Regions from separate parts of the Homo sapiens genome. Here region 2 is linked to region 1. The links are contacts of gene promoters, found by promoter capture Hi-C in blood cells and fetal thymus (Javierre and others, 2016). All regions are on one chromosome and are shown on one strand. Each heading gives the region's core, a stretch centred on a gene start or on the middle of the fragment in contact. The rest is flanking DNA. Distances are from core to core; before and after follow the strand shown. Region 1 holds the start of RHEBL1 (RHEB like 1). Region 2 has its middle 9.9 kb from the start of SPATS2.

Evidence for each region. Contacts are between HindIII fragments. The CHiCAGO score rates a contact against its expected background, and 5 or more counts as called.
Region 2: a fragment that was not itself captured here is called in contact with the fragment with the promoter of RHEBL1 in region 1 in 1 of 17 cell types (M2 macrophages); the score reaches 5.3 in M2 macrophages.

What each region holds. Positions count from the first base shown.
Region 1 is chr12:49,066,752-49,072,061 of GRCh38, reverse strand. It overlaps RHEBL1 (RHEB like 1), which reads left to right and starts at 2,083. Exons shown (of 8, transcript NM_144593.3): 1 at 2,083-2,328; 2 at 2,956-3,027; 3 at 5,027-5,094. The coding sequence starts at 2,277. RefSeq lists enhancers at 1,640-1,689, 2,060-2,369 and a silencer at 1,920-2,039. The HindIII fragment of the contact is 17,864 bases long and covers 1-5,310 here.
Region 2 is chr12:49,354,937-49,360,246 of GRCh38, reverse strand. No RefSeq gene overlaps it. Among named protein-coding and RNA genes, the nearest start is that of SPATS2, 9.9 kb to the left of the region's middle. The HindIII fragment of the contact is 347 bases long and covers 2,717-3,063 here.

The DNA of each region.
Region 1 (5,310 bases), core at 834-3,333:
GCTCACTGCAACCTCTGCCTCCCGTGTTCAAACGATTCTCCTGCCTCAGCCTCCTGAGTAGCTGGAATTACAGGCATGCACCATCACGCACGGCTAATTTTTGTATTTTTAGTAGAGACGGGGTTTCACTATGTTGGACAGGCTGGTCTCGAACTCCCGACCTCAAGCGATCCGTCCACCTCAGCCTCCCAAAGTGCTGGGATTACAGGCATGAGCCACCATGCCCGGCCTAGGGCTTTTGTGAATATTAAATGAGATAACAATAAAATGCACCTGGCACATAGTATAGTCGAACTCTCTATAAATCTAGGTGATTTCCTTCCTTTCTTCCCTCCTCTACCAATCCTTCCACAAGTCATTTTAACCTTAGCTTCAGAATATCCTGAATTCTCAACTTCATTCAACATGATCACTCTAGTCAAGCGCTCTCATCTCTCACCTGGACTACAGGTAACAGTTTCCTCGCCAATCTCCCTGCTTCCTTTTGCTCCTGTTACCCTCAAACCCCAATCTATTCACTACAGCCAGGGAGATTTTTTAGAAAGACAATTTAGATCATGTCATGCCCCAGCTTAAATACCTTCAAGTACTTAGAATTAGCCCAGACTCCTTTATGTGGCCTGGCCTCTGCCATTCTCTTAGACTTCATCTGCTTTAGGCTAACTGGCTTTCTTTTTTTCTTCCCCTCTTCCTGGAATTTACCCAATTTATTTCCATCTTAACGCCTTAGCATTGGTGGATTCTTCTTGTGAAATCTCCTAGTTGGTTCCTTCAGATCTTAGTTTAAATGGGGTTTCCTATGAGAGAAAGTATCACTAAAGTGGTCATCTCAGCCAGGCTCGGTGGCTCACGTCTGTAATCCCAGCACTTTGGGAGGCCGGGTCAGGTGGATCACTTGAGGCTAGGCGTTCGAGACCAGCCTGGGCAACATAGCAAAACCCCATCTCTCCCCAAAATACAAAAATTAGCCAGTCTCATAACCCTGTCTCAAAATAAATAAAGAAAAAAAATTAAAAATGCTGTATTGTCTTTAAAAAATAAAGTGGTCGGCCGGGCGCGGTGGCTCACGCCTGTAATCCCATCACTTTGGGAGGCCGAGGCGGGCGGATCACGAGGTCAGGAGATGGAGGCCATGCTGGCTAACACGGTGAAACCCCGTCTCTACTAAAAATACAAAAAATTAGCCGGGCGCGGTGGCGGGCGCCTGTAGTCCCAGCTACTCTGGAGGCTGAGGCAGGAAAATGGCGTGAACCCGGGAGGCGGAGCTTGCAGTGAGCCGAGATAGAGCCACTGCCCTCCGGCCTGGTAGAAAGAGCGAGATTCCGTCTCAAAAAAAATAAAAATAAAAATAAAAAAATAAAAAAAATAAAGTGGTCATCTTTCATCACACCATCTTCTACAGCACTTAACACTCTCTGATATTTCCTTGTTGTATGTTTGTTTCTCCCTTCATAAGAGCAGACACATTGTCTGTGATGTCCATGTTCTGACCCCAAAGCTGGAGCAATGCCTGAAACATGTAGTATATACTCAGTATTTGTTGAAAAATGAATATTTGAGGATCATGATGATGAAGAAGAAACCTCAGACTACTTGATCATAAATTCTAGCAATTTCTGCAAGAATAAGAATTGCAGTTTGAAATTAGATGCTGGAAGACTGGAAACCTTGATAGGTCTGGGGCTGAAGGCTGGGGGAAGCAGAAGGAATATACTAGAACTTTGGCGGTTTTCTCCCTATCTAAGGACCCCAGAGACCATGCAAAAGGGAGGGCTAGAATCTTATGACCGGAAACCACAAAACGGGTATTTTCCATCCATAATTCTTCGAAGCCACTTCAGCTAGGCTGTAAATGCGCAAACGCCTTTAGGACCCCGGGTTCCTTTCTGTTTCTTTATGAATGAACCGGCTCCAGTCTGCGCACGCGCAGCTCCCAGTTCTCCCGCTCCACGTGAGGCCCACCCTTCCCTCCTGCTGGCGGCACCGCCCTTACCCATTCTAATGGACCAATGGCGAGCGGCCTGGGGGGCGGAGCCCGGCGCGGCGCGGCTCAGTAGTTCCCCGGGCGCCCGGCTCCCTGGCGTTAGACGTGCTGTGTTGTGATCACGTGGGCAGCTCCGGGCGCGGCGCTTGTTTTGGTTTCCTTCTAACTTGCCCACGGCAGCTTCGGGGTGAGCGACTTTCCTGCACCAGCTGCCGCGCCTGCTCACACCCTGACCTCGTTTTCGGGCTCTCTGAGCCCGCAGTTCCGCAAGCCCCTGGGGCGGGCTCCTGCCATGCCGCTAGTCCGCTACAGGAAGGTGGTCATCCTCGGATACCGCTGTGTAGGTGAGTCTCCGCCCTGCAGAGCTCGGACGCGCAGCAGCTTTGTAGCCAGAAGAGGCGCGCTGCCGTGGGAACGCGACCCAGGGAGGAATGATGACATCGTAAGGATGGGGTTGTAGAGCGAGGATTGGAAGAGTGGAGGAATGGAAGAGTGGAGGATTGGAAGAGTTGGTGGTGTGTGGAGGCTGCAGGAAGCGGGAGCACTTAAGGGTTAATGCGGACCTGGCTGCGGGAATCTCAGAGTGGTCCCAGCGTTACTTTGGGGATAGGGGTGGGGTCACAATTTGAAAACCGGGACGCGGTCTCCGTGGGGACAGATAGTCGCAGGTGTCCTGGGGCGGGGCGGACTTGATCCTAGGGAATCTTGGATCTTCCTACGAGTGGGATGGGGTGGGGAAGGCGGCGGGAAAGGCTTCCTGCTGCGCTTCTGAATGCATCCGGTAGCCAAAGTGCGGAGACCCTGGGTGAAAAGAGGGTGAGGGTAGACACAAAGGATAGCATTGCTTGAGGCACTCACAGACTGTGGTGTTAATTTGGGGTCTCCTTTGGTCCTGGGCCACAGTCCGAAAGGACAGAGGATGTGAATGTGGATGGATGATTTGGATACAACTGTCACACTGCTCCCCACAGGGAAGACATCTTTGGCACATCAATTTGTGGAAGGCGAGTTCTCGGAAGGCTACGATCCTACAGTGGAGAATAGTGAGTAGACTTCTCCCCTAGTGTGCTGGTGGTATGCGACCCGGAGGGCTTGGATACCCCACCCAACTCCATAATTTATTTCTCTGGTGCCAAGGGGCTGATTTATTTAGACATTACATCTGATTTCTTCTTTAGCAATCCTGTTCGATGGATGGCTAGAGTATGGATTTTGCAAGATATTGAGTCTGGGATAGTTTAGATGTAGACATTAAGAACCTTAGCGTGTCTTTCCAGTTACCTGGATAACTCCCTGGAGCTGATCTATCTGTGTCACCCCCAAGGTTAAGAATGTAAGGGGAGGCTGGGCGCAGTGGCTCATGCCTGTAATCCCAGCACTTTGGGAAGCTGAGGCGGGCGGATGGATTGAGGTCTGGATTTCGAGACCAACCTGGCCAACATGGTGAAACCTCATCTCTACTAAAAATACCAAAATTAGCTGGGCATGGTGGCGCACGCCTGTAATCCCAGCTACAAAGGAGACTGAGGTAGGAGAATCGCTTGAACCCAGGAGGCAAAAGTGGCAGTGAGCCAAGGTCGTGCCACTGCACACCAGCCTGGGTGTCAGGGTGAGACTGTCTCAAAAAAAAAAAAAAAAAAAAAAAAAAGCTGGGCACCGTGGCTTATGCCTGTAATCCCAGTTCTTTGGGAGGCCAAGGCAGGTGGATCACCTGAGGTCAAGAGTTCGAGACCAGCCTGGCCAACATGGTGAAACCCCGTCTCTACTAAAAATACAAAAAATTAGCCGGACATGGTGATGGACATCTGTAATCCCATCTACTCGGGAGGCTGAGGCAGGAGAATTGCTTGAACCTGGGAGGCGGAGGTTGCAGTGAGCCGAGATCGTGCCACTGCGCTCTAGCCTGGGCAACAAGAGTGAAGCAATGTCTCAAGAAAAAAAAGAAAAAAAAAAAAGAATAAAAAGAATGTAAGGGGGAAGGGAGTGGGAGGGATGAAGATAAATTGATCAATGGGTACAAATATATAGTTTGATAGAAGAAATAAGACTTAGTAGATCAGTAGGGTGACTATAGCTTACAATAAGCTATTTTACATTTCAAAATAGCTAGAAGAGAAGAATTCAAATGGTTCTAGCATAAAGAAAAGCCAAATATTTAAGGTGATGAATATTCCAGATACACTTATTTGATCTTTACAAATTATATGAATGTATTAAATTGTCACATGTACCCTGAAACTTGGTACATCTATTATTCATCAATAAAACAAAAGTAATTACTTTATTTTTCTTTTCTTTTCAAGACAGTCTCGCTCTGTCACCCAGGCTGGAGTGCAGTGCCGCAATCTCAGCTCACTGCAACCTCCACCTCCTGGGTTCAAGCAATTCTCACGCTTCACCCTCCTGAGTAGCTGGGACTACAGGCATGCACCACCATGCCCAACTAATTTTTTGTATTTTTAGTAGAGACAGGGTTTCACCATGTTGGCCAGGCTGGTCTCAAACTCTTGGTCTTAAGTGATCCGCCTGCCCTGGCCTCCCAAAGTGCTGGGATTACAGGTGTGAGCCACTGCGCCCAACCAATAATCTACTTTAAAAAATGCTGCCAAAAAAAAAAAAAAAGGTAAGGAGACAGCCAGGTGCAGAGGTGCACACCTGTAGTTCCAGCTACTTGGGAGGCTGAGGTGACAGGATTGCTTGAGCCCAGGAGTTCCAGGCTATAGGGTGCTAAGAGTGCGCCTGTGAATAGCCACTGCTCTACAGCCTGGGCAACATAGCAAGACCTCATCTCAAAAAAAAAAAATGTAATTAGCCGGGCATGGTGGCAGGTCCCTGTAATCCCAGCTACTCGGGAGGCTGAGGCAGGAGAATAGCTTGAACCCGGGTGGCAGAGGTTGCAGTGAGCTGAGATCATGCCACTGCAGCCCAGCCTGGACAATAGAGTGAGACTCTTGTCTCAAAAAAAAAAAAAAAAAAAAGTCAGGGGACATACATCGCTGGTCCTATAAGGCACTTCACAGTCAAGTTTTCTTTTCTTTTCAGCTTACAGCAAGATAGTGACTCTTGGCAAAGATGAGTTTCACCTACATCTGGTGGACACAGCAGGGCAGGTACCAGTTGGGGTATGGTATCCAAATGTGGCAGTTCAGCCCTCGGAGATGAAGTCTGGTAGTCTTTGTGGCTCATCCGTAAAGTAGTATTAAAAGCATTTTACCTGCTAACAGTATGCAGGGCTCATTGGAGCTGTTCCATAAATACATGTTGAAGTGACTATAGTAGGGCGTGCCCCAGGGAGGGTCACCTGGATGTTGTCCCACCAACCTTTG
Region 2 (5,310 bases), core at 1,641-4,140, 290 kb before region 1:
CTCCTGCCTTAGCCTCTCAAAAGTGCTAGGATTATAGGCATCAGCCACTATGCCTGGCCTTTTTTTTCCCCACTCTTGAGACAGATTAATAAATTTCTTATTTATTTATTTGAGGCAGGGGCTTGCTCTGTTGCCTAGGTTGGAGTACAGTGGCAGAATCATAACTCACTGTAGCCTCAAACTCCCGGGCTCAAGTGATCCCCCCGCCTCCGCCCATCATCACACCCAGCTCCCGTTCCTTTTCTGGTACTAATTCACCTGAAATGTGCCTGAGCCATTGATTCTAGGAAAAATGCCCTTTTAGGTGTTGCTTGCAAAGCCAGGCTCACATGCTGACTCAGTCACTGCCCAGCAGATGTTCCCCACAACATTTCTCAACCCAGAATTGGGACTGAGGTCTGGCACAGAATGGGTTAAAAGATTCCCTTCTGGGCTGGGAGTGGTGGCCTGTAATCCCAACACTTTGGGAGGGCAAGGCGAGCAGATCACCTGAGGTTGGGAGTTCGAGACCAGCCTGACCAAAATGGAGAAACCCCCGTCTCTACTAAAAATACAAAATTAGCTGGGTGTGGTGGTACATGCCTGTAATCCCAGCTACTCAGGAGGCTGAGGCAGGAGAATCGCTTGAACCCGGGAGGTGGAGATTGTGGTGAGCTGACATGGTGCCATTGCACTCCAGCCTGGGCAACAAGAGCGAAACTCCGTCTCAAAAAAAAAAAAAAAAGATTCCCTTCCAAGTTTCCCATACAGGGCACTGTTTTACTGCTTTGTTCTGTTGAAACTTGTCAGTAACGTTTAAACCCAGAAAGTCCAAGATCCTTGCTTAGAGTCATAATAGTTTGCAAATAACCAGATGGACTATGGAAAGGGTGAATGAGAGGTGGGGAAAAAGAAGAATAAGAAAGAAAAGAGAGAACAAATTATTGAAATGAAGTATCTTTAGCTGGAACCCTACATAAATTTTTTACTTTTATTGCTCAAAACTCATCTTAGCAAAAACAAAACAAAACAAAACAAAACAGTTGAACAACTTTTAATCCCTTGAGGCGACTAACAGAAATACTGCAGGGAACATGAAGCAAAAGAAAAACATTTTAAATCACCTTCTCAGGGTGGGAACTTCAAAAGCCAAAGCACTGGCATGAGATGTGCGTTCAAAGTTCTAACATGAAATAGACAGCTCTAGATTCCCCTAGGAGATTAAATGACAACTGAAAAGCATGCTTCAGTTGGAGCTTGCTTTGAATAACACCCCAAATCCAACTTCACAGTTGCTTGCTCCTTCTCAGCAAAAGGAGAGGACTGAACTCTGGTAATGAACCTGCTATGGAGGTGCCACTACCACATTTTTTTTTAAGTGAAGGGGACAGCCGAGGGACATATTTTACCATGACAGCCTTGTAGCGCCATCTGCAGTTCCTAGCTAAGACTACAACAAACCACACGTCTCCAGGCTTGTTAGGACCACCCCACTGTTCAAGAGAAAAGAAAACTAAGACATAGAGTACTAAAGTCAGTGAGTCCTCAAAAGCCTCCTGGGTCCTAGAGTAGATGCAAACATAGCTCTAAGACACAGTGCCTAGGAAAAGATCTAAGGGCCTCAGTTGACTATAAACTCAATGAGTCACACTTACATAGCAACCAAAAAAAGCTAGTAAATTTTTAGGCTGCTGGATTTAAAGGATGATATATTGTTCAGACCTTGAGAACGTAACAGCCCCACAGTACCCCGTTCTGTCTGAACACGTCTCAGAATTGCATTTAGTTCTGGGCACCACAATTTAAGAGCAATATTGACAAGAGCTATAAAAAATGTTCATACCCTTTGACCCAGTAATCCCACCCATGGGAATTTATTCTAAGGAAATAATTCAAGAGAAGAGATGAATTAGAGCCATGAAGATATCGATGCCACATTATTTACAACAACATTATATAAATGTTTATCAAAAAGGGAATATTATACAGCTTTAAGATATAATGGTGTGTTATTAAAAAATAAAATGTAATGATAATGCATGCTTCAACATATTTGAATCATTTTTTCTTTTCTTTTCTTTTTTTTTTTTTTGAGAGTCTCGTTCTGTCACCCAGGCTGGAGTGCGGTGGCACAATCTCAGCTCACTGCAACCTCCTCCGCCTCCCAGGTTCAGACGATACTCCTGCCTCAGCCTCCTGAGTAGCTGGGACTACAGATGCATGCCACCACACCCAGCTAATTTTTGTATTTTTAGTAGAGACAGGGTTTCACCATGTTGGTCAGGCTGCTCTCAAACTCCTGACCTCGTGATCCGCCCACCTCAGCCACCCAAAGTGCTGGGATTACAGGCGTGAGCCACCACACCCAGCCCATATTTGAATCTTGGAAACATTATGTTCAATGAAAGAAGCCAGACACACACAAAGGACAACATATTGTGTGATGCCATTTAAATAAAATGTCCAGGATAGGCAAATCTAGAGACAGAAAGCAGATCAGTGATTGCAGAGGCTAGGAAGAGGAGGAAACAGAGAGTGATTGCTGATGAGTATGGAGTTTCTTTTTGGGGTGGTAAAACATTCTGGAATTAAATAGAGGTGATAATTATACAACTTTGTGAATCTATCAGAAACCACTGAATTGTACACTTTTAAAGGGTGAAGTTTATGCTATATGAATTATATCTCAATTAAATATATATAATAACAAAGTCTTTATAGTAATATTTTAAAAGCTTATTGAATCACAAGCATTTTTTTATTTTACTGTAAAAACATCATCTTTATCAGGGAGGGGGGAAAGTACAAAATTATGTCCCTGATATGATTCAACCATGTAAAATGATGTACATTTATGAACGACGACTAGAAGTGAACATGAATAACTGAAAACAAACAGTGTGATGCAAGTGAATTTTTGGAGGGTGAGATGGTCATTATATTGTTCTTCGAGCAATTAAATATTTTATTTTCTTCCCAAAACAATGTCCACAAGGGGGCAGACAGAAGATGACAAATAAAACCATTTAATAAAAACCTCAGCTGAAAAGCTAATAACTCCAGAATGCAGGTTGAAAGCAAGCTTAAAGGTCATCTAGGCTGGGGTCAGTAGCTCATGCCTGTAATCCCAACACTTTGGGAGGCCAAGGTGAGAGGATTGCTTGAGCCCAGGAGGTAAAGGCTGCAGTGAGCTATGACCGTGCCACTGCACACCAGCCTGTGCAACAAAGTAGATTTCGTCTCAAAAAAAAAAAAATCATCTAAGTCATCTAAGTCCATCTCCCTCACCTGACAAGAAAGAAACAGAGGCCCTAATGGAAAGGTGGCTCACCCAAAGTCACCAGTATGGTCAATGCAAGAGGTAGAAGTAGAGACCCATCTCTTCACCTCTTCATCCCTCCTCACTCGGACTACAGTGCCTCCTCCTTAAACAAAGTGATGGTAAATGTGGCAAATGAAAGACTTAGAGAGATAGGAGATGAAGGGCAGAATCTCATCAAGAAATGGTTTTTGGTTTTTTATGTTCTTTGTAGCAAGAGATGGCAGGTCCAGAAAGACATTACAAGGAAGCAAATTTAGGAACAATTTAGGGAACAATTAAGGATGTCTAAAAGGTGAGACAGGTAGAAGATTTCCAATTCAAGCAAAACCCGAAATGGTCATCTCTAAGGCAAGCTTTTCCCAAGATTCTGTACTGTATAGTTGCTTGGGATACAGGCCTTCTCAGTTCCCTTCCAACTCTTCAAAGTATCTATGAATTTTTGTTTTGTGCAAATGGGAGAATATGAAATCACTGGATTTCATTAAATCAACTAAGGTAGAAAATAAAGAAGACTCACTTGTTAATGTCTTAGATTTCCTATTATTTTACTAAATGTCCTTTTTTTAAGACCGTATTTTGGGTTTTGTTTTAATTTCATTTACTTATTTGTTTTTATTTTGTTTATTTATTTATTTATTTCAGACTGTGTCTCACTCTGTTGCCCAGGCTGGAGTACAGGGGCGCAATCACAACTCACTCATGATTGACCTTCTGGGCAGCCACATTTTCTTTTTTCTTTTTTTTTTCTTTTTATTTTTTGAGACGGAGTCTCACTCTGTTGCCCAGGCTGGAGTGCAGAGGCGCCATCTCGGCTCACTGTAACCTCCGCCCCCCTGGGTTCAAGCGATTCTCCCCACTCAGCCTCCAGAGTAGTTGGGACTACAGGCGTGTGCCACCATGCCCGGCTCATTTTTGTATTTTTTGTGTTTTTTATTTTTTGAAGTGGAGTCTCACTCTGTCGCCCAGGCTGGTGTGCAATGGCGCAGTCTCAGCTCACTGCAACCTCCACCTCCTGGGTTCAAGTGATTCTCCTGCCTCAGCCTCCTGAGTAGCTAGGATTACAGGCATGTGCCACCACGCCTGGCTAATTTTTTGTATTTTTAGTAGAGAAAGGGTTTCACCATATTGGCCAGGCTGGTCTCAAACTCCTGACCTCAGGTGATCCACCAACCTCAGCCTCCCAGAGTGCTGAGATTACAGGTGTGAGTCACCACGCCTGGCCACAGCAACCCTTTTAAAGTAGATACTTGGCTCATACCTGTAATCCCCGCACTTTCGTAGGCCAAACGGGAGGGTGGGTTGAAACTAGAAGTTAGAGACCAGGTTGGGCAACATGGCAAGACCCCATCTCTACCAAAAAAAAAAAAAAAAAGAAAAAAAGCCAGGTATGGTGATGCCTGTCTGTAGTCCCAGCTACTTGGGAGGTTGAGGCAGGAGGATCACTTGGGCCCAGGAGTTCCAGGCTACAGTGAGCTGTGATCACCCCACTAAACTCCAGCCTGGGCAACAGAGCAAGACCCTGTCTCAATAAATAAATAAATGAAAAAACAATTTTTTTTTTGAGACAGAGTCTCGCCCTACCACTCAGGCTGGAGTGCAGTGGTGCGATCTCAGCTCACTACCTCATCTCTGCCTCCCGGGTTCAAGTGATTCTCCTGCCTCAGCCTCCTGAGTACTTGGGATTACAGGCATGCCCCGCTGTACCTGGCTAATTTTTGTATTTTTAGTAGAGATGGGTTTTCACCATGTTGGCCAAGCTGGTCTCAAACTCCTGACCTCAGGTGATCCGCCTGCCTTGGCCTCCCAAAATGGTGGGATTACAAGCGTGAGCCACCGCGTCCAGCCAAAAAATTTTTTTGAATAAAGTAGATACTATTATCTCAATTTTAAAGGAAACTAAGATTCTAAGAGGCTGAAGAAATAAAAAATACGACAACTAGAAAATAACGTAACATGATTCAAATCCTACTGTTGTTCTTCTGACTCTAAAACTCATGCTCAAGGATGAA